6 separate regions of the Homo sapiens genome follow, and regions 1, 2, 4, 5 and 6 are each linked to region 3. The links are contacts of gene promoters, found by promoter capture Hi-C in blood cells and fetal thymus (Javierre and others, 2016). All regions are on one chromosome and are shown on one strand. Each heading gives the region's core, a stretch centred on a gene start or on the middle of the fragment in contact. The rest is flanking DNA. Distances are from core to core; before and after follow the strand shown. Region 1 overlaps TTC39C (tetratricopeptide repeat domain 39C). Region 2 overlaps RBBP8-AS1 (RBBP8 antisense RNA 1). Region 3 holds the start of RMC1 (regulator of MON1-CCZ1). Region 4 holds the start of LOC124904263 (a long non-coding RNA gene). Region 5 overlaps TTC39C (tetratricopeptide repeat domain 39C). Region 6 overlaps TTC39C (tetratricopeptide repeat domain 39C).

Region 1 (2,700 bases), core at 2-2,501, 600 kb before region 3:
AACTATTCTAATACAACAAATGTGTTATGATAAACTATTAAGAAAAACTGTAAAACAAGCTAAGTTAAGGGAAACTAGAAACGATGGAAATTTTAAAATGAGTTGATTAAAAAAATCAATCTCTCTCTCTCAAAACCAATATGATAATCCAAAAGCTTAATCATAAAATTAAGAAAACACAAATTAGTCTAATAAAATAATATCACATTTTTACAGATCTGAAACTAGTATTAAGTTATATGTTTGGAAAGTAATAACTAGAAATGGAAAACTATAATATAAAACTAAAATGGATATAAGTAAATATATATTAACATTACAGAAGAAATAAGGGAAGTTATTAAAAAACTGATTTCAAAAGGGAATTTCACAGCAGTAAGTTACATAAGAACTCCTTCCAATGTTTAATGGCAGTTTAATTACTTTAAGTGATCTGTTTCTCCAAAATATGGAGATATAAGAAAGCATATAAAAAAGATACGCTTTTAGCCAAATCATTAAAAACAAATCAGGTCTATTCCTAAAGCCTAGTAAACACAAGTCCCAGAAATATTTATATTCACATTTAAATACATACATATATATATTAATTGCTAAGTTACATATATCAGTTATATATTATATATAACATTGTTATGGAATGCTCCTGCCTCACAAAATTGATACATGAAATCCTAACCCTCACTGGAACTGTATTAGGAGGTGGGAGTTTTGTGAGGTAATCAGATCATGAGGGTGGAGCCCTCATGAATGCAATTTGTGCCCTCATAAAAGAGACCCCTGAGTGCTCTCTAGCCCCCTTTCCACCATCTGAGGACACAGTGAGAAGCCATCATCTATGAACCAGGACATGGTCCTCACTAGACACCCAATCTTCTGGCACCTGGATCTCATGCCTCCAGAACTGTGAGAAATAAAAGTGTGTTGTTTTAGTCACCCAATCTATAGTATTCTTTTATAGCAGCCCAAACTAAGACACACACATACACACACACACACACACACACACACACACGTTTTATATATATATATGTATATATGTTATATATATGTATATATGTTATATGTATATACGTGTATAGATATATATATACACACACACACACACACACACACACACACATTCCTCTAACTTATTAGCAAATAAAAGCAGTGGGATATACTAGAAAAAACACTCGATTAAAAAAAGAAAGCCTGGGCTGGGCGCAGTGACTCATGCCTGTAATCCCAGCACTTTGGGAGGCCAAGGCAGGAGGATCACTTGAGGTCAGGAGTTCGATACCAGCCTGGCCAACATGGCAAAACCCCGTCTCTACTAAGAATACAAAAATTAGCCAGGTGTGGTGTTGGGCACCTGTACTCCCAGCTACTCAGGAGGCTGAGGCAGGAGAATTGCTTGAACCGGGAGGCAGAGGTTGCAATGAACCAAGAACGCACCACTGCACTCCAGCCTGGGTGATAGAGCGAGACTCCATCTAAAAAGAGATGAAAAAGAGACAAACAGAAGAGAAGAGAAAAGAAGAAAGAAAGGGAGGGAGAGAGGAAAAGAAAGCAAGAAAGGGAGAGGAGAGGAGAGGAGAGGGGAGGGGAGGGGAGGGGAGGGGACGGGAGGGGAGGGGAGAGGAGAGGATAGGAGAGGAGAGGGAAGGGAGAGGAGAAAAGAAAGGAAAGGAAAGGAGAAAGGAAAGAAAGGAAAGGAGGAAGGAAGGAAGGAGGGAGGGAGGGAGGGAGGGAGGGAGGGAGGGAAGGAAAAGAAAGGAAAGAAAGAAAGCCTGAATTCTAGGTCTTCCTTAATCCTAAAATAACTATGTACACTTTCACAAAGTACTTATCTCATCTGGACCCCTGCTTGCTATATACGACAGGACAGACATATGCAAAAATTTTATAGTCAAAATGGGAGAAATAAAAGGTGACATGACTAAATGAAGACATATCCTCAGTGACTGATAAGAAATATTATAAACATAGTATCAATTTAAATTTCCCATTAACAGAGAACCTGAGAAACTGATAGTTATGTATATATGTGAGAGAACAAGTGGATAAAAAATAATATAATATATATTTAAAAGGCAATCATGATATTCTTGTTTTATTTAAGACATAGGCAGGGTCTTCAAAATGGTCATAGAAAATGTGCATTATAATAAAACTATGCATGAATTTCAAATTTTTTTACACCAAAATAAGCCCATACTAACTTGCTATAACATGTCTGAGCAGGATCTAGTTTGAGGCACTAAGAAGCATAAGACATCAACTTGAAAAGAGCCCCTATCAGAGCAACATAAATTCTGCATTTAAATGGAAGCAAGAACAAACATAAAACCTATGGTGAAGCTTGGGTGAAAGAATGGTGAAATCACTGACACTTTACAAAAAGTTTATAGGAATAATTCCCCAAAGAAATCAGCAGTTTGCAAATGTATAAGTTTACGAAGGGCCAAGACGATGTTGAAGATGAAGCCCATGGTGGCAGACCATCTACACAGATTTGCAAAGAAAATATTAATCTTGTTCATGCCCTAATTGAAGAGGACTATAAATAATAGCCAACACCATAGACATCTCAATTGGTTCAGCTTACACCATTCTGACCAAAAAAGATGAGCAAAGTTTCACTTGATGGGTGCCAAAACCACTGCACCCAGATCAGCTGCAGACATGGGCACAGCTTTCAATGGAAATTGTAAATAA
Region 2 (2,855 bases), core at 261-2,760, 570 kb after region 3:
ATTGTGTGATAGCAGTACAGACTCTAGGATTCTTAAAAGTAAAGTTTTGGAACTCACGTAGATTTAAAAGTCATCTAACTCAAGCCATTTACAAATGAAATCCTGTAGATTCTAGAATCTATGCTTAACTCCTGCAGCTGGGTAGTTGAGTGTTGTGAAGGGAAAATGACGTATCACGTTAGACTGATATCACTAAAGTCATATGGTTTCAAACTTCATGCAGGGCATCAGTTAATCCTTAAAATAGCCTTTGTTCAGCTCTTTTTATTTTCTCTGCTGTCTTCCAGACCTTTACTATTTTCAGTCCTCAAGCCTCTGAAGCTATTTTCACTCTAGGTGGACAACCTGGCCTCCTGATTAAACAAGACAATTGAGCTCCACAAGTGTGATCTTCCTAAACTTGCTTTTTTCTTTCTCAACCCTACGAATTAGGCAAAACCATTTGCAGTTAAAAATACAACCTGAGGCCAGATAGGGTGGCTCATATCTGTAACCTCAACGCTGTGGGAGGCCCGCGGGAGGCTCACTTGAGATTTGAGAAACTGCAGTATAGGCTGAATGACAGCCAGAACCTGTCTCTTAAACACACACACATACACACACACACACACACACACACACACCCGCCTGTCTCTTCACACACACACACACACACACACACACACACACACACACACACACCTGCCCAAACAATCCAGTTGCTTCTCACCTTTGTGTCCACCCTGGTTCAAGCTACCATCAACCTCTTCTACGGCAATATCCTCCTTTAAAAAAAAAAAAAAATCTGTTATCCACTCTGTTCTCCATTACAGTATATTCTCCAACAGCAGTCTGAGAGGTTCTTTAAAATCTATCAGAAAATCACACTCCCTGCTTAAAGCATTTCAGGGTCTTCCCATCACCCTAGAATAAAATCCAAACTCCTTTCCATGGTGTCAGGACGAGTCAGGCACTATATTCTGCTGATGATACCTCTTAAATATAATTTTGAATTAGTGCTTTCCTTTCCAACCTCACTTATTGCCCTAGTTGAGGCCCTGATGTTTCTTACCTAGGCAACAGCCTCCCTGCTTCCAGTCTTGTTCACCTTAATTCAGTCTCACAGCTGCCCAACATCTAAACCATTATTTCTGATCCTGGCATTCCTTTGCTTAAAACTCTTCAAAAGACTGTTGCCAGACTGGTGCGGTAGCTTACGCCTATAATCCCTGCACTTTGGGAGGCCGAGGTGGTTGGATCACTTGAGGTCAGGAGTTTGAGACCAGCTTGGCCAACATGGTGAAACCCTGTTTCTACTAAAAATACAAAAATTAGATGGGCATGGTGGCAGGCACCTGTAATCCCAGCTACTCGGGAGGCTGAGGGAGGTGAATCACTTGAACCCAGGAGGCGGAGGTTGTGGTGAGCCAAGATCACACCCCTGCACTCCAGCATGGGCGACAAAGCGAGACTGTGTCTCAAAAAAAAAAAAGAAAAAAAGGCTATTGCCTAAAGGTTAAAAATCAGTTTCTTTAAAATGTCACACAAGCTCTTATCCTTGCACAGTCTCTGCTGTACCCCTTGCTCTTTCCCTCTTTCAACAGGAAACTGCTTTTATTCCTCTCTCCTTCCCTTGGCTGTGTCTTACTCTTGGCTCATACAATGTTTTTCTCTTGGAATTACTTTCACCCCCATTTGTTACACTTCATCTTTCTTATTCTTTTAAGTCTCAGCTCAGGCACTACCTCTTTCAGGCGACTAACCTAACATCTCTCTTCATCCTTCCTTTCTATACCCTTTCACAAATGGCCTTCCTCATTCTCCCATGCCCTCAATATATATCTTTATCATTGCACTTAACACCATTATATTGTAATTATTTTTGTGTTTTTAATCTTCAGCTGGGCTCCTTGATGTCAGACTGTGCTTTCTTTATTCTTCTGTTTTCCTACTTTTTTTTTTTTTTGGAGACAAAGTCTTACTCTGTCCCCCAGGCTGGAGTGCAGTGGCGCGATCTCAGCTTATGATAGCCTTCACCCTCCAGATTCAAGCAATCCTCATGCCTCAGTCTCCCGAGTAGCTGGGATTACAGGCACCTGCCTAGCTAATTATTGTGTCTTTAGTAGAGACGGAGTTTTGCCATGTTGGCCAGGCTAGTCTCAAACTCCTGACCTCAGGTGATCCACCCTCCTCGGCCTCCCAAAGTGCTGGGATTACAGGCATGAGCCACCACGCCCAGCCCTGTTTTCCTGCTTTTTTTTTTTTAATTTTTTGAGACAGAGTCTCACTCTGTTGCCCAGGCTGGAGTGCAGTGGCACAATCTCGACTCACTGCAACCTCTGCCTCCTGGGTTCTTTCCTACTTTTTACTAGAGTCTTAGCACAGAACTATCCCACAGAGCCACATATATAATATTAAATTTTCTAAAAATTACATTTTAAGTAAAAATCAGGTGAAATTAACTTAATATATTTTATTTAACCCAGTTTATCTAAAATATTATTTAAACATGTAATCAATATAAAAATTAATGAGACTTTTTACATTCTTTTTCTTCATACTAAGTCTCTGAAATCTGTTATATATTTTACCTTTACAGCACATCTCAGTTTAGACTAGCCACATTATAAGTTCTCAAGTCTGCATGTGACTAGTGGCTACTGTATCGTACAGCGCAGGCCCAGCATATATAATATAATCAATGAGTGAACAAATGAGGTTGTGTGATTTACTTAAAGAAGCAGGATGGAACTGGGACGTGGGTATCCAATTCTTCGTTTATTTCTGCTATTTGTGCTGGGCATTTCCCATCTCTGTCCTGCTCCCTGCATCATCCCATCCCCCACCCAGCATTAAGTGCCTGTGTCTCCAGGCAT
Region 3 (3,065 bases), core at 291-2,790:
CAGACCAACAGTAAAATTTTTTAAGTCACTACTGAATTGAGGGCCTACATTATACTTTCACCTTCTGTAAGCACCAGTGTTACAGTGGCCAGATAGCTTATCATCCAAATCGAGACACTTCTGAAAGTGAAAGGCCCTGCTGTTGATCATTAAACCTGTTCAACAGTGCGAACTGGGACTATGCAGTCACCTTAAGTATAGTGGAAGCCATGATTTTCTTGTATTATTACATGAGAAACAATGAATCTCCTCCACCTGCCACTCTGGAAAGACCTGGGCTAAAGAAATGAACGCCCTCCTCTGTGAACAAACCAGAAATGGGCACATCATCACGCTGACTTGTTAATTTCCAGTGCTAGGAAGTGGCTGCCCCACTTTTGAAGTATTTGGCTCCCAAATCAACTGCTCCAGATATTCCACTCTGACAAGAGGTGCTAGTAAGTGCCACGAAGACCCTCCCTACAGACAGGAATTCCATGTGCGCACACAGACTTCAGGCCTCTTAGGGCAGACCAAATGACAAAATTATAAAAAACCATTTGAATTAGAAAAACATCATTCTGTTTACATGACAAAATGATCTGAAAGTGTCTATACCATTACCTAAATGAGATGGGATTCCTATCATCTGGGCCTTTAACTACCACGCCAGTAGCTCCACCAGATCGAACAGCAAAAACCTGAGAGGGAAAAGCAGCAAGGTTAACAGCCTGAACTCTGAAAGGATCTAAACTCAGAAGCCAACCCGCAAGCGATTATTTCTGTTATACACCACCCTGGGTTCAACTAAAGTAACACGGCACATATCAAGGTACAGATGTTTGGCTGCTCAGGTGAATTTTAAAAACCAAGAGCAGAGAGCGAAAAGGATGCCACCGTGACACCGGGTCGGGTTCCCGAGGCTCCAAGTTCTAACACCGGTTCGCGCATCGGCGCCGCTGATACGCCTGAAGTACAGTCTTTTCCCCCTTTACAAAATTTCAAGGAAAATGAAAATCTCGACGTCTAAACCCTTGACTACGAGTGTAACTAATGACAAACACAACAAAAGAAGCCTAGATAAGACGGGCGCGCCAACAATTGAGACACTGGCCACGGGGCCACTGCATCCGCGCAGCTGGCTCGGGGGTCCAGCCCCGAGGTCACCTGCGAGGACACCTGGCCGCGGCTGAGCCCACCCAACAAGGAAGGAGCGCGCGCCGCCTCCCGCGCTGGGACGGGACGGGACAGGACAGGAGGGGACGCTCGGGCCTGGTCGCGCGGGACCGGCCTTGGCGCGCCCACGACCCCGGCAGGGCCGCGCGGGGGAGGAAGCGCGGGCGCGCCGGACCTGCTTGTTGGCCTCATCGAAGAAGACGCAGTTGACAGGGTTCGCCTTCTCGAACTGCACCGGCCGCTCGCACAGCTCCAGATAGTAGTCCTCCTCGCCCATGGCGGGCGCCGCGCCCGCGGCGGGGGCCCCGGGGGCGGTCGCCAGAGTGGAGCAGGATGCGCGGTGGAGCCCGGCCCGGACTGTAGCGGCGGCTGCGGCTGCGGCTCTGGGCCCGGCGCGGACGCCGCTTCCTGGTGCCACGCCCCCACCCCGCCCACCACGTGACCCGCGGCCCTCTGCGCTTAAACGGGCAGCGTCTGGCTGCGGTGGGGCCCACCGGCCTTAACCACGCCCCGCCCGGCGCTGGAGGCTCCTCCCCTCTCCCCGAGGGCGGTCGGAACGCGGCGGCGTGACCCGGAAGCCCGCGTGGTTCCCCGCGGACCGAGGGCGGCGTAGCCGCCAACCCTACCCTGCTGCGAGTTCCTGTGCCCGGCTCGGTCGCCCCTGCCCCAACCTGTACCCCCGCGTGGGACCGCTCCCGGTCTAGGAAAGGCTCCTCCTTGCTTTCGGGAGGATTTCCCAAGTGCCTCCCGCGCCAGAGTTCCAGCCTCTGGGAGCTTCGTCAGGGAGAAGGGGCTGAAGGCTCACTGAGCAGGTGTAGGGGCGCCAGAGACCGTCTCCAGTCCCCTCAGCGCTTCTGCGGGCTCTTCCGCTGGAGCCAGAAACCGAATTGACAAGAGGCAGATAAACAAAAGAAAAGCATACACACTTTATTAGTTTTTCATGGGGACCTTCAAAAGAGAGTGAGGTCTGAAGAAGTGGCCACAGCAAGATGCTTTTATACTTTTTAGACAAAGAATGATGCATTTGAGAAGAAAGCACAAAAGGCATCTGGCTGGGGCGATACATTTCTAAGAGAGTCACTAGGAGAAATATTGGGGAGGGTGTAAAATTAGTGGAAGGTAAGTGTTACTTGGGAAGTTCATTTATTCAGGTCCATTGCAGCCCCAACTCCCAGTCTCTGGTGATAAGGGCTATTTTCTGACCCGGGTACAGAGAGGGTGCCACTCCCAGAGGAATCTTTACTGCTTATTCCCTGTAGGAAACGACAGGTCATCTAGCCCTTTCTGAAACTACAATTTCTCCGGTGTTTTTAGCTCAAAATAATATACCAATTTTTGGACATATTTTGGGATAGCACATCCTTCACTCCTTGCTAGTAACAGGGAAACCTAATATAGATTGTGGGTCAGCAAGCCTTTTTACTTGATAAGAAACATGAAATTTACCATGTTAGCCCCTCTTTTTTTGTTTGTTTCAGAGACAGAGTGTCTCTGTGCCCAGGCTGGAGAGCAGTGATGCGAACACGGCTCACTGCAGTCTCAACCTCCCATCTCAGCCTCACAAGTAGCTGGGACCACGGGTGCATGCCACCACACCTGGCTCATTTTTTTATTATTATGCTTTGTAGAGACAGCGTTCTCTGTTGCCCAGGCTGGTCTCAGACTCCTGGCCTCAAGTGATTCTCTCGCTGACCGTGCTCAGCCCCCATGTTAACCCTTTATTTTTATTGTTTATTTTATTTTATTTTGAGACGGAATTTCGTTCTTGTTGCCCAGGCTGGAGTGCAATGGCCCTGTCTCGGTTCACTGCAACCTCCACCTCCCGGGTTCAAGCGATTCTCCCGCATCAGCCTCCCAAGTAGCTGGGATTACAGGCACCTGCCACCATGCCCAGCTAATTTTTTTGTGTG
Region 4 (2,955 bases), core at 63-2,562, 700 kb after region 3:
AAAAAAATCCTGTCCTGTATGTTACCTTTCACTGTTTCCCACAACTGATTTAGAGCCCAAGGAAAAGGATGCTAAGAGCTTGGGTTCTTTCTCACTGCAAATCTGTGAGCTGGTACTCTTAACCAGCTTTAACTCTTAACCAGTGAGTTAACTCTGTGAGCTTTAACTCTTTACCAGTCACTGCTTCCCCGTACAACCAGCCTGCTTAACCTAGAAGTAAGGGAAAAATCACTCCTTTGCTATTACCCTGCTTTTACCTGACCCCAGACCCCCAAGTCCTAGATATTAAAGTGGGATTTAAAGTCTTTTTTTATTGTTAAATTTGTAGCCAAGGCATGTAGAGGTGTTTGTTCCCTAGTGGGTGGCAGGTTGCAGTCTAATTTTATTTTCATTTTCAAGATTTGGTTTCAGGGCTTAATGTGGGAAATTAGGTGATCATGAATAGAAAGTAATTGTGCAACCATCTATGTCTGATTTATTAAAAAACAAAACTCTGAAAAGGAAAATCACAGCAGTGCCTCATAGTTGTACTTCTATGTTAATATCTGTTTGTCAAAAAGCTTTTCCCCTTTGCACATAATAGGTGATATAAAAGTGTTTCCTAAAATCTCAAATGTAAACTATACCAACAACATGTTCTATTCAGAAATCTGTTTTAGAACAGCTTTTGCATGTTAATGATAAATTCATTTCATTATTAGATTTTTCCTATAATTAGAGATATCTTTTAAAAAGTGAAACAATACCTGCCTCTTAATAAAGTCTTCCTCTTTGTTGAATGAACTAACAAATGAAGACTTCAGGGAAGACTAAAACCATCCTCTACCAAATTCCATGGTATGGCTTGGGACTAGATTGCCTTTGGCTCTGGCAGAACATTATAATCCCTGGAGGGATCTCCTGAATTTAGTAAATGCCTCCTGTGAGTTGAATGACACATTTCTTTGCTAGTGGGTGGGAGTATTCCTACGGTTTTTTTCAGCGTGGATAGTGCCAGGAATCCTAAGGGCTTTGCTTTCAAAAGCAGACAAATAACTCAGTTTTGCAAACCTCAGAGGATCAGTAAGAGAAAGTGACCCAAGCCCCAGAGAAAAAGCAGGGATGTTTAAGGATAGAACCATCCCTTTATTTATCCTTTTATCTCATTCCAGAACCATAAATCTCTTCGCCGTCTTGGATTGCCTCCCTATAACAACATGTGGTAGAGATTTTGGCCCAAGTACTAATTAAACCTGAAGGAACCCCAAGGGGAAAACTCAGTCTTGAGTCTCCCTCTGGTGGACATTTGTAGTAATCCACATACAGCTCTGTCAAATGAAGGGACGAATTTCAGAAATAAATATTCAAAGAATAGTAAACATATTCTAAGACACCAGCACTATGCACTATTATTTTCTATGCATTAATTAAAATTCTTAAATTATTCACCTCTATAATCTTCTGTTTTATTTCCTAGAATTTACCCTCACTTTGAAAATCTGAGCTGGATGCAGTGGTTCACGCTTGTAATCTCACCACTTTGGGAGCCCAAGGCAGTAGGCTCATTTGAGGCCAGGAGTTCCAGACCAGCCTGGCCAAAATGGCGAAACCCTACCTCTACTAAAAATACAAAAATTAGCTGGGCATGGTGTTGAGCGCCTGTAATCCCAGCTACTCGGGAGGCTGAGGCAGGAGAATCACTTGAACCCGGGAGGCAGGAGAATCGCTTGAACCCAGAAGGCGGAGGTTGCAGTGAGCCGAGCTAGCGCCACTGCACTCCAGCCTGTGTGACAGACCGAGACTCCGTCTTGATTAAAATAAAATTTAATAAAAAGTTTAAACAATTCCTTGAAACAAAACAGCCTAGAGTCCCCTCACCCCAGCGCTACAAAGTAAATGAAAGAAGTAAACAGTTTGTCCATCTCCATTTCCATTCTAACACAGAACACCAAAGCAGAGATGATTTAAAATTTGCCATTTGTAATTAACTGCTGGGCAGGATTCCACTGGAAAATTTCCCTCTCACCTTTAACTTGAATCCAGAGGAGGTTTAAGGTGTTATCAGCTCTTCCTCAGGGAAGCTTCCACGCAGGAGGCTTTCTTTGGAGCTCTGTTCCCTAGGTAGCTCCAGGATCTTTGGACTTTTCTTGTGCTTATATAGTTAATGGCCCTCTGAATTGCTCTCTTCAAAAGGGGAACCGTTTGAACTTGGGGGGCGGAGGTTGCAGTGAGCCGAGATCTCGCCATTGCACTTCAACCTGCGCGACTGAGCAAGACTCTGTCTCAAAAAAAAAAAAAAAAAAAAAAAAAGGCCAGGGGCGGTGGCTCACACCTGTAATCCCAGCACTTTGGGCAGGCGGATCAGGAGGTCAGGAGATCGACACCATCCTGGCTAACACGGTGAAACCCTGTCTCTACTAAAAATACGAAAATTAGCCGGGCATGGTGGGCGGGCTCCTGTAGTCCTAGCTACTCCGGAGGCTGAGGCAGGAGAATGGCGTGAACCCGGGAGGCGGAGCTTGCAGTGAGCCGAGATCGCGCTACTGCACTCCAGCCTGGGCGACAGAGCGAGACTCCGTCTCAAAAAAAAAAAAAAAAAAAAAAAAAAAAAAAAAGGAGTAGGGGAGACAGTGAAGAAATGCCTCTCCATTCTTCAGATCTGACTCTTGCTCACGTTCTTCTGTCGTTACACTCATCTTCAGGCTCAGGCTCCATTTGATGTGCTCTGGAGTCTGATATTTGAGCAGGACTCCTTATTCCTCCGCCAGTGAATCTTCTTCCCACTACCAGATTCACAGGCTAGTGTTAATTTCTCTTTACGTATTTTACTATTTTGAAGTTTGTAAGGTTAACCGTAGTTCCATTACTTAAAAAAAAATTCTTTCCCTTAAATAGACAATCGCTATATCCTAGTTATAACTGGTAATGATCTCGGCTTGTAGTACACTTAGGTTTACATAAATGTCCTTTTCTGAT
Region 5 (2,700 bases), core at 86-2,585, 630 kb before region 3:
AATCTGAAGTCCTGAACTCTCTGTGGGGAAATAAAAGTATTTTTTTTAAGCAGGCAGAAATAAATGTTTTGAAAAAGATTCAAAAGCACAGGACCTTATATAATCTTTGAATGTGGAATAATAGTTCAAACAATATTTTGAACTGAAAATTCAAGAATGAACTCTCAAACAAAAATGTCATGATTCAGAATGCTCCATGATGATGACAGAAAAGCTTGTCACCTATGCTGCATGTTAAGAAGAGAGAAAAATGGCAACAGCCGTATTTTAAAGATTCATAATGTTCTTCCCTTCCATCTAGTTAAAACCAGATGTCCAGGCCGGGCACGGTGGCTCACACCAGTAATCCCAGCTCTTTGGGAGGCCAAGGCGGGTGGATCACGAGGTCAGGAGATGGAGACAATCCTGGCTAACATGGTGAAACCCCATCTCTACTAAAAATACAAAAAAAATTAGCCGGGTGTGGTTGCGGGTGCCTGTAGTCCCAGCTACTTGGGAGGCTGAGGCAGGAGAATGGTGTGAACCCAGGAGGCAGAGGTTGCAGTGAGCCAAGATCACGCCACTGCACTCCAGCCTGGGTGACAGAGCGAGACTCCGTCTCAAAAAAAAAAAAAAAAAAAAAAAAAAACAAAAAACAGATGTCCAATATTTTTGGGCACCAATTTTGCTCTTCAGAAAAAAGTTCCCTTCTCATTCACTGAATATAGGAGAGCAATCTCTTCTCTCTTACTATTATCTAAAACCCACACGGAATTCACATCAGGGAGAAAGTCAATGTGAATACACATTTTGGAAACAGTCTACTGAAAAGTGGTCAGTAACAGAGATGAAGAAATATGAATACTGTTTAGCCAAAATCAGTGAGAAATAACTTCTTTCAAAGAAATTATGACTATTCCCTCAAAACAAGGTCAAATCAGATAAAATTTGCCAACATTCTACTTGCTTTTCTGTTTTATTTTGAAAAGAAATATTAAAATATTAATATGAGATCATGTTTCAGCCAAAAGAATTTGTAAATAAACGATACCCTAAAATGATATCCTTTAGCTCAATAAAAATTTCTTTAAAAATCTAACCTTAAACATTGAGCCAAATTATGGCAGAGATTCTTAAAAGTGACTGAGGTATTTAGATTCTTCAAAACCACAGGTTTGCAGTACCGGGCATGGAGGTAAATTAAATGACAAAAATTAGCAATGAAGAATAAAAAAATAACTTTGAATTCCTTGTATAATATCTAAATAACCTGAGCTAAGGGGAAAATGATTAAATCCTGGCACTGTGTAGCCCAGCAAATGTTCCACCAGCAAATATTTTGAGGCCAAAATCTATGTTCATTCACGAATAACCTTTTCAAGTAATGTGTCAAAAGATTTCCAAAAGTTGGTAATTTGACAATTTTCACAAAGAAAGGTAAACTCCTAAAATGTAGATACTGTTTGTCTAATCTATAGACTAGGCTAATAGATTAGCAAAAGAGTCACACTTTTAGTTGTAAAATTATCTTCTATTAATATTTGCTCTTACTTGGTTGGCTTTCAAAGGAAAAAGAGTGTCCATCGCTTTGAAACATTCTGTAGACAATCTGGAGATGACTATTTCTGGTGACATAACTTCAGCTGAAGATTTTGTTCTTTTAATAAGTAAAACATGGAATTCTGGCCTATTAACATGAATTATTTTTACAATAAAAGTCAGTTGGTGGTCAGGAGATCTGCTTTCTATTCATTGCTCTGCTGATAACAGGAATAATTAATTGGGATAAGTCAATTTGCCTTTTTGTGCCTGAGTTTCACTGTCTGCAAAGTGGGGTTAAGAATATCTGTGCTATGTTATTCACTGGAGTATTTTGAGGATAAAGTAAAACACTAGAAAGCACTTTTATTTTTTCAAAACACAAATATAAATGCTATGTCATGATATTGTTAATAATTTTACAGGTACCTCATCATGTTACCCATTCAGATATGTGCTTAAGGTAGGTGTTCCTACAGGATCTTGGGTTGGATGTTCCGTTTGATTTTATTTTAAAAATAATAAATCACAAAACTAAAACGTTTGAGCAAGGTCACTTAACCCTCTCCCCAGGTGGTTAGTTATTATTACCATCATCATCCTCCTCAACATCATTATTACTTTTCAGCTACATGTTTAAAAGAGGAGATCTTTAATATGTCAGCTTAACTGGGAAAATGTGTCCCTGGCACAGGTGGTTTTCAGAAGAAAAGCCCATCTTCACAAGAGCTTTGTCCTCTGCTTTTATTTTAAAGTGCGGACCCTGGGTGGGGAGGGACGGAGCGGGTGTTCCGGGTCTGTCACTGAGGAACCAATTCCCTCAGAGAGGCCAGAGCAGCATGGATGCGGACATGCAATCTGTTTTCAAAGTCGTAGCCAGAGAAATCCTCCTGTAAGATCAAAGAAAGATATTTATGCACTCTGTTAGCTAAGCTTGCACAGGGTACTGTGGTATAAAGCACACTCAATTTTGCATTTCCCAAAGTAAAATCTCTACACTCCCAGTAAAGGTTTCCCATCCACTTGATTTTCATATTACTCAAACCTCAAACTTTGTATTCATTTTTAAAAACGTCAACTGAATGTCAATAAGGTTCTCTTTGGACAATTTTCCTCGAGTTATTCTTGAAAAAGTAGTCTTATGTTGTGCTCAATATAAGTTGCTATTAGAAATTCTTAATT
Region 6 (3,026 bases), core at 127-2,626, 580 kb before region 3:
CCCAAAAAAACAAATTATTCCTGTGCCCATGAAAGCATTTCTAGGCAAAAATCTTCAAAAGGACTCATGGGGGCTGATTTCTCAGAGTGCCTGGTTAACTGGAGGACAGATGTTGTTAAAATCTCAAACTGATTCCCTGATAACTCTTGGTAACAATGTAGATGGAGCAGCTACTATAACAGCTATCTTATTTCATAGGTATGATTAATTTCTTATAGTTTCATTTTTCTACAAATCCTCATAACCTCAAACAAGCAGATAAAAAGATATGCAAAGGAGAAGTAGACTCCAAAGGCCAGCGCATTTCTGGTTCTGGAGTGAGACAACCCAGGCTCACTCACTGGGCAAGCACAGGAAGTTGCTTGAAGCCCTCTTAGATCCCTGTTTATTTTTTCTATAACATGCAGATGACAATTTTACACCTATGTCACAGGGTTGTTCTGAGGATGAAATGGAAAAGCGTGTATAAAGTTCTTAACGCAGTACTGAGCCAAATTAAGCACATGAAAATGTGATAAAAGCTCCTAGTATTTCAAAGCTCATGTTGCCCTGATATTTAAGGCAGTAACTTTTGTATAAGTCAATTGTTAGCCAAGATCAAAGTTTAGAAAGAGATTATTAGTAATTCAGAGAGGGAAAAAAATTGTATTTTGTATTTTTCAACTCAGCAACTAAATAATGCTCACGTGCCTTAGGCTGGAAGTGCACCAATCTTGTGTCATTAGCAATGAGGAATCTTACCCCTACTTCGCCCACATCTTCCGAACAGAAGGTAACTGACTAACATCCTGGGTTCCTGGAAGAGTCTTCCCTAGCAAAGACACAAGGAAAGGCAAAAGAACAAAATGCTCCGGGGCCCTGGGACATTCTGGCTCGTTTTAATACCAGTCCTCAAGTGAGAATCAGAGATTTGATCATCGGAGGCTTTATTTTAAAAAGATGAGGAAGGTACAGTACCTCTAGTCGTTGTATCCGTCCCTTGAAAAACATAAAGAGGGAAGAATTTGGATAAGCAGCTTCTTTTTTAAGGAGAATTTCCTTAGCTTCATCCAGGCCTGCCTTGTTATCACTGCCATCCAAGGCAAAAAACGGGCGGACTACAGTATGATACCAGAGCAGAGCTAATCTAGAGGAAGAGGGAGAGAAACATTGAGCACATTAACTTTCCTTACACCATTTCCATTTTTCAAAACTCCAGTATGTGTTCTTCCAATACTACTCTATCCAAAAAGCTTACTATGCAGTCTCTGAAGAAGTAAAATCAGAGACTTTCCCCATTTTAATGTTAATATTTGGAAAACTGCAACTTTAGCACAATATATAAATCAGAAGACACCCTTCCCTCAGGGGAGAAGAGAATAAAGTAACAGGAGCATTTAGCTTTTCTGAGCCTTCTAGATGGATCGCTGAAGAGATGGCTGACATAAATCTCTGAATTCTACACTTTACTCATTAATGCACCAATTAGAAATGGTAACTAGTCACCATGAGTTTACCGTTCCCTTGTAATAAAAGCTTTATTTATTTATTTTTGGCAAAAGGAAAATGTTGTTTTCTCTTGCGTTCACAAAACTTAGGGTATAAACCTAGAATCTAAGTTTAAATATCATGCACAAATAAATAGGTCAAAAGGAAAAAGAAAATTTATAAAAAAGAATAAATTTAAATATGGAAACCACAGACACAAATTATACTAAGTTGGGTTAAAATAAGTGAGGGGATAAGACAAAGGGCTCTTTCTCTGGCCTTTGAAGATGTTCAATTTAAAAAACAAGCAAATAAATAAATTACTTCAGACTCCCTTGCTCCAAACTCATTATTTAAAAAAAAAAATGGCCATGTTAAACTAGGTAAACAAAACAGAGTCACTGGGATTTGTAATCCTAGCTACTTGGGAGACTGAGGCAGAATTGCTTGAACCGGGACCCGGGAGGCAGAGGTTGCAGTGAGCCGAGATCGCGCCACTGCACTCCACCCTGGGCTACAGAGCAAGACTCTGTCTCAAAAAAAAAAAAAAAAAAAACAACAGCCAGACAAAAATGTTTAACCAACATGTCAAATATTTTTATGTAAATGCATACTTCTGGTGTGCTTATAAATTTGGTTCTCTTATGGAGCTCATACTAATGACACTATTAATTCTATTCATTTCTTTATCAGAGATAAGCATAAAATATTAAGATATAAACAGACAAATGATCACAAGTTAACAAACCTATTAATTCACATTAATAAAGGACAACTGTGTACTTCAATGAGTTTAGGGAGGCATAATTTTTTTAAATGAAAAATTAATGGTATTTTAAATAGCTATCAGTTGATTAAGAGTTAACATCCAAATTTCTCAATACTGATACAAGTAGAAATAGAGGTAAGGTCCTCTATGATATCAACATTTTTGGGGAAAATTTTGACAAGTGCTGTAATGTTAGACAAAGAATATCCGGAATCGTGTTAAATTACTCAAGTTACAAATGGTAGATATTTGCCAGACTAAAACAAACAAACAAAAAACACATCACTTTTAACTGATGTAGAAATTGGTGAATTCTTGTTCTAGATAGTTATATCAGCTTCCTCATGCTCTCCTGCTTAAATAATTATTATTTAAGTTTAAACCAAGGAACATAACATGACTCAGTTTAGCGAAAGAGCACAAAATATCCATGTCACATATAGGAAACCACCTTGAATCATCAAGGAAAATTACCCAATGTGAGAATTCTTTATAAGAATAAAAATTTCAGAAACACAGAAAAAGCTTAGCAAATTTGTACCTCCTAAGTCCAAAAATCAGAATCGTGAATCTCAGAGAATGTGGTCAAAGTCACAAAAACTGCTTATAAAATCATTTGAGGTTTTAAAATACATGACTTGTGAGACTAGTGAACAACGCCTTGTTCTCTAACTAAAGTCAGCTTAGAACCACCACCACGACCACAGAACACAGTCCTTGGTGTTGCATTGAAAGACATAAGACACAGCACCCTGTCAACCAACCAAACATTTTACCTGAAGTTTCCTTT

What was found. Contacts are between HindIII fragments. The CHiCAGO score rates a contact against its expected background, and 5 or more counts as called.
Region 1: a fragment that was not itself captured here is called in contact with the fragment with the promoter of RMC1 in region 3 in 4 of 17 cell types (naive CD4 T cells, total CD4 T cells, naive CD8 T cells and 1 more); the score reaches 6.6 in naive CD4 T cells.
Region 2: a contact is called between a fragment that was not itself captured here and the fragment with the promoter of RMC1 in region 3, in 1 of 17 cell types (naive B cells). The highest score is 5.3, in naive B cells.
Region 4: a fragment that was not itself captured here is called in contact with the fragment with the promoter of RMC1 in region 3 in 2 of 17 cell types (naive B cells and total B cells); the score reaches 7.5 in naive B cells.
Region 5: a contact is called between a fragment that was not itself captured here and the fragment with the promoter of RMC1 in region 3, in 1 of 17 cell types (total CD4 T cells). The highest score is 5.4, in total CD4 T cells.
Region 6: a fragment that was not itself captured here is called in contact with the fragment with the promoter of RMC1 in region 3 in 1 of 17 cell types (total CD8 T cells); the score reaches 6.1 in total CD8 T cells.

Annotation. Positions count from the first base shown.
Region 1 is chr18:24,097,429-24,100,128 of GRCh38, reverse strand. The region is part of intron 6 of TTC39C (tetratricopeptide repeat domain 39C); the gene reads right to left. Among named protein-coding and RNA genes, the nearest start is that of CABYR, 40 kb to the left of the region's middle. The HindIII fragment of the contact is 2,188 bases long and covers 158-2,345 here.
Region 2 is chr18:22,927,292-22,930,146 of GRCh38, reverse strand. The region is part of intron 1 of RBBP8-AS1 (RBBP8 antisense RNA 1); the gene reads left to right. It also overlaps a transcript of RBBP8 not described here. Among named protein-coding and RNA genes, the nearest start is that of RBBP8, 4.6 kb to the left of the region's middle. RefSeq lists an enhancer at 424-473. The HindIII fragment of the contact is 3,813 bases long and covers 1-2,855 here.
Region 3 is chr18:23,501,986-23,505,050 of GRCh38, reverse strand. It overlaps RMC1 (regulator of MON1-CCZ1), which reads right to left and starts at 1,540. Exons shown (of 20, transcript NM_013326.5): 1 at 1,331-1,540; 2 at 604-680. The coding sequence starts at 1,432. RefSeq lists an enhancer at 829-928 and a silencer at 1,179-1,828. The HindIII fragment of the contact is 15,374 bases long and covers 1-3,065 here.
Region 4 is chr18:22,797,538-22,800,492 of GRCh38, reverse strand. All of the region lies in intron 2 of RBBP8-AS1 (RBBP8 antisense RNA 1), which reads left to right. LOC124904263 (a long non-coding RNA gene) reads right to left here and starts at 2,263. Exons shown (of 2, transcript XR_007066308.1): 1 at 2,006-2,263. The HindIII fragment of the contact is 1,500 bases long and covers 563-2,062 here.
Region 5 is chr18:24,132,193-24,134,892 of GRCh38, reverse strand. TTC39C (tetratricopeptide repeat domain 39C) reads right to left here. Exons shown (of 14, transcript NM_001135993.2): 14 at 1-2,408. The coding sequence ends at 2,319. Among named protein-coding and RNA genes, the nearest start is that of CABYR, 5.5 kb to the left of the region's middle. The HindIII fragment of the contact is 2,237 bases long and covers 217-2,453 here.
Region 6 is chr18:24,081,013-24,084,038 of GRCh38, reverse strand. TTC39C (tetratricopeptide repeat domain 39C) reads right to left here. Exons shown (of 14, transcript NM_001135993.2): 6 at 958-1,126. Among named protein-coding and RNA genes, the nearest start is that of CABYR, 57 kb to the left of the region's middle. The HindIII fragment of the contact is 283 bases long and covers 1,235-1,517 here.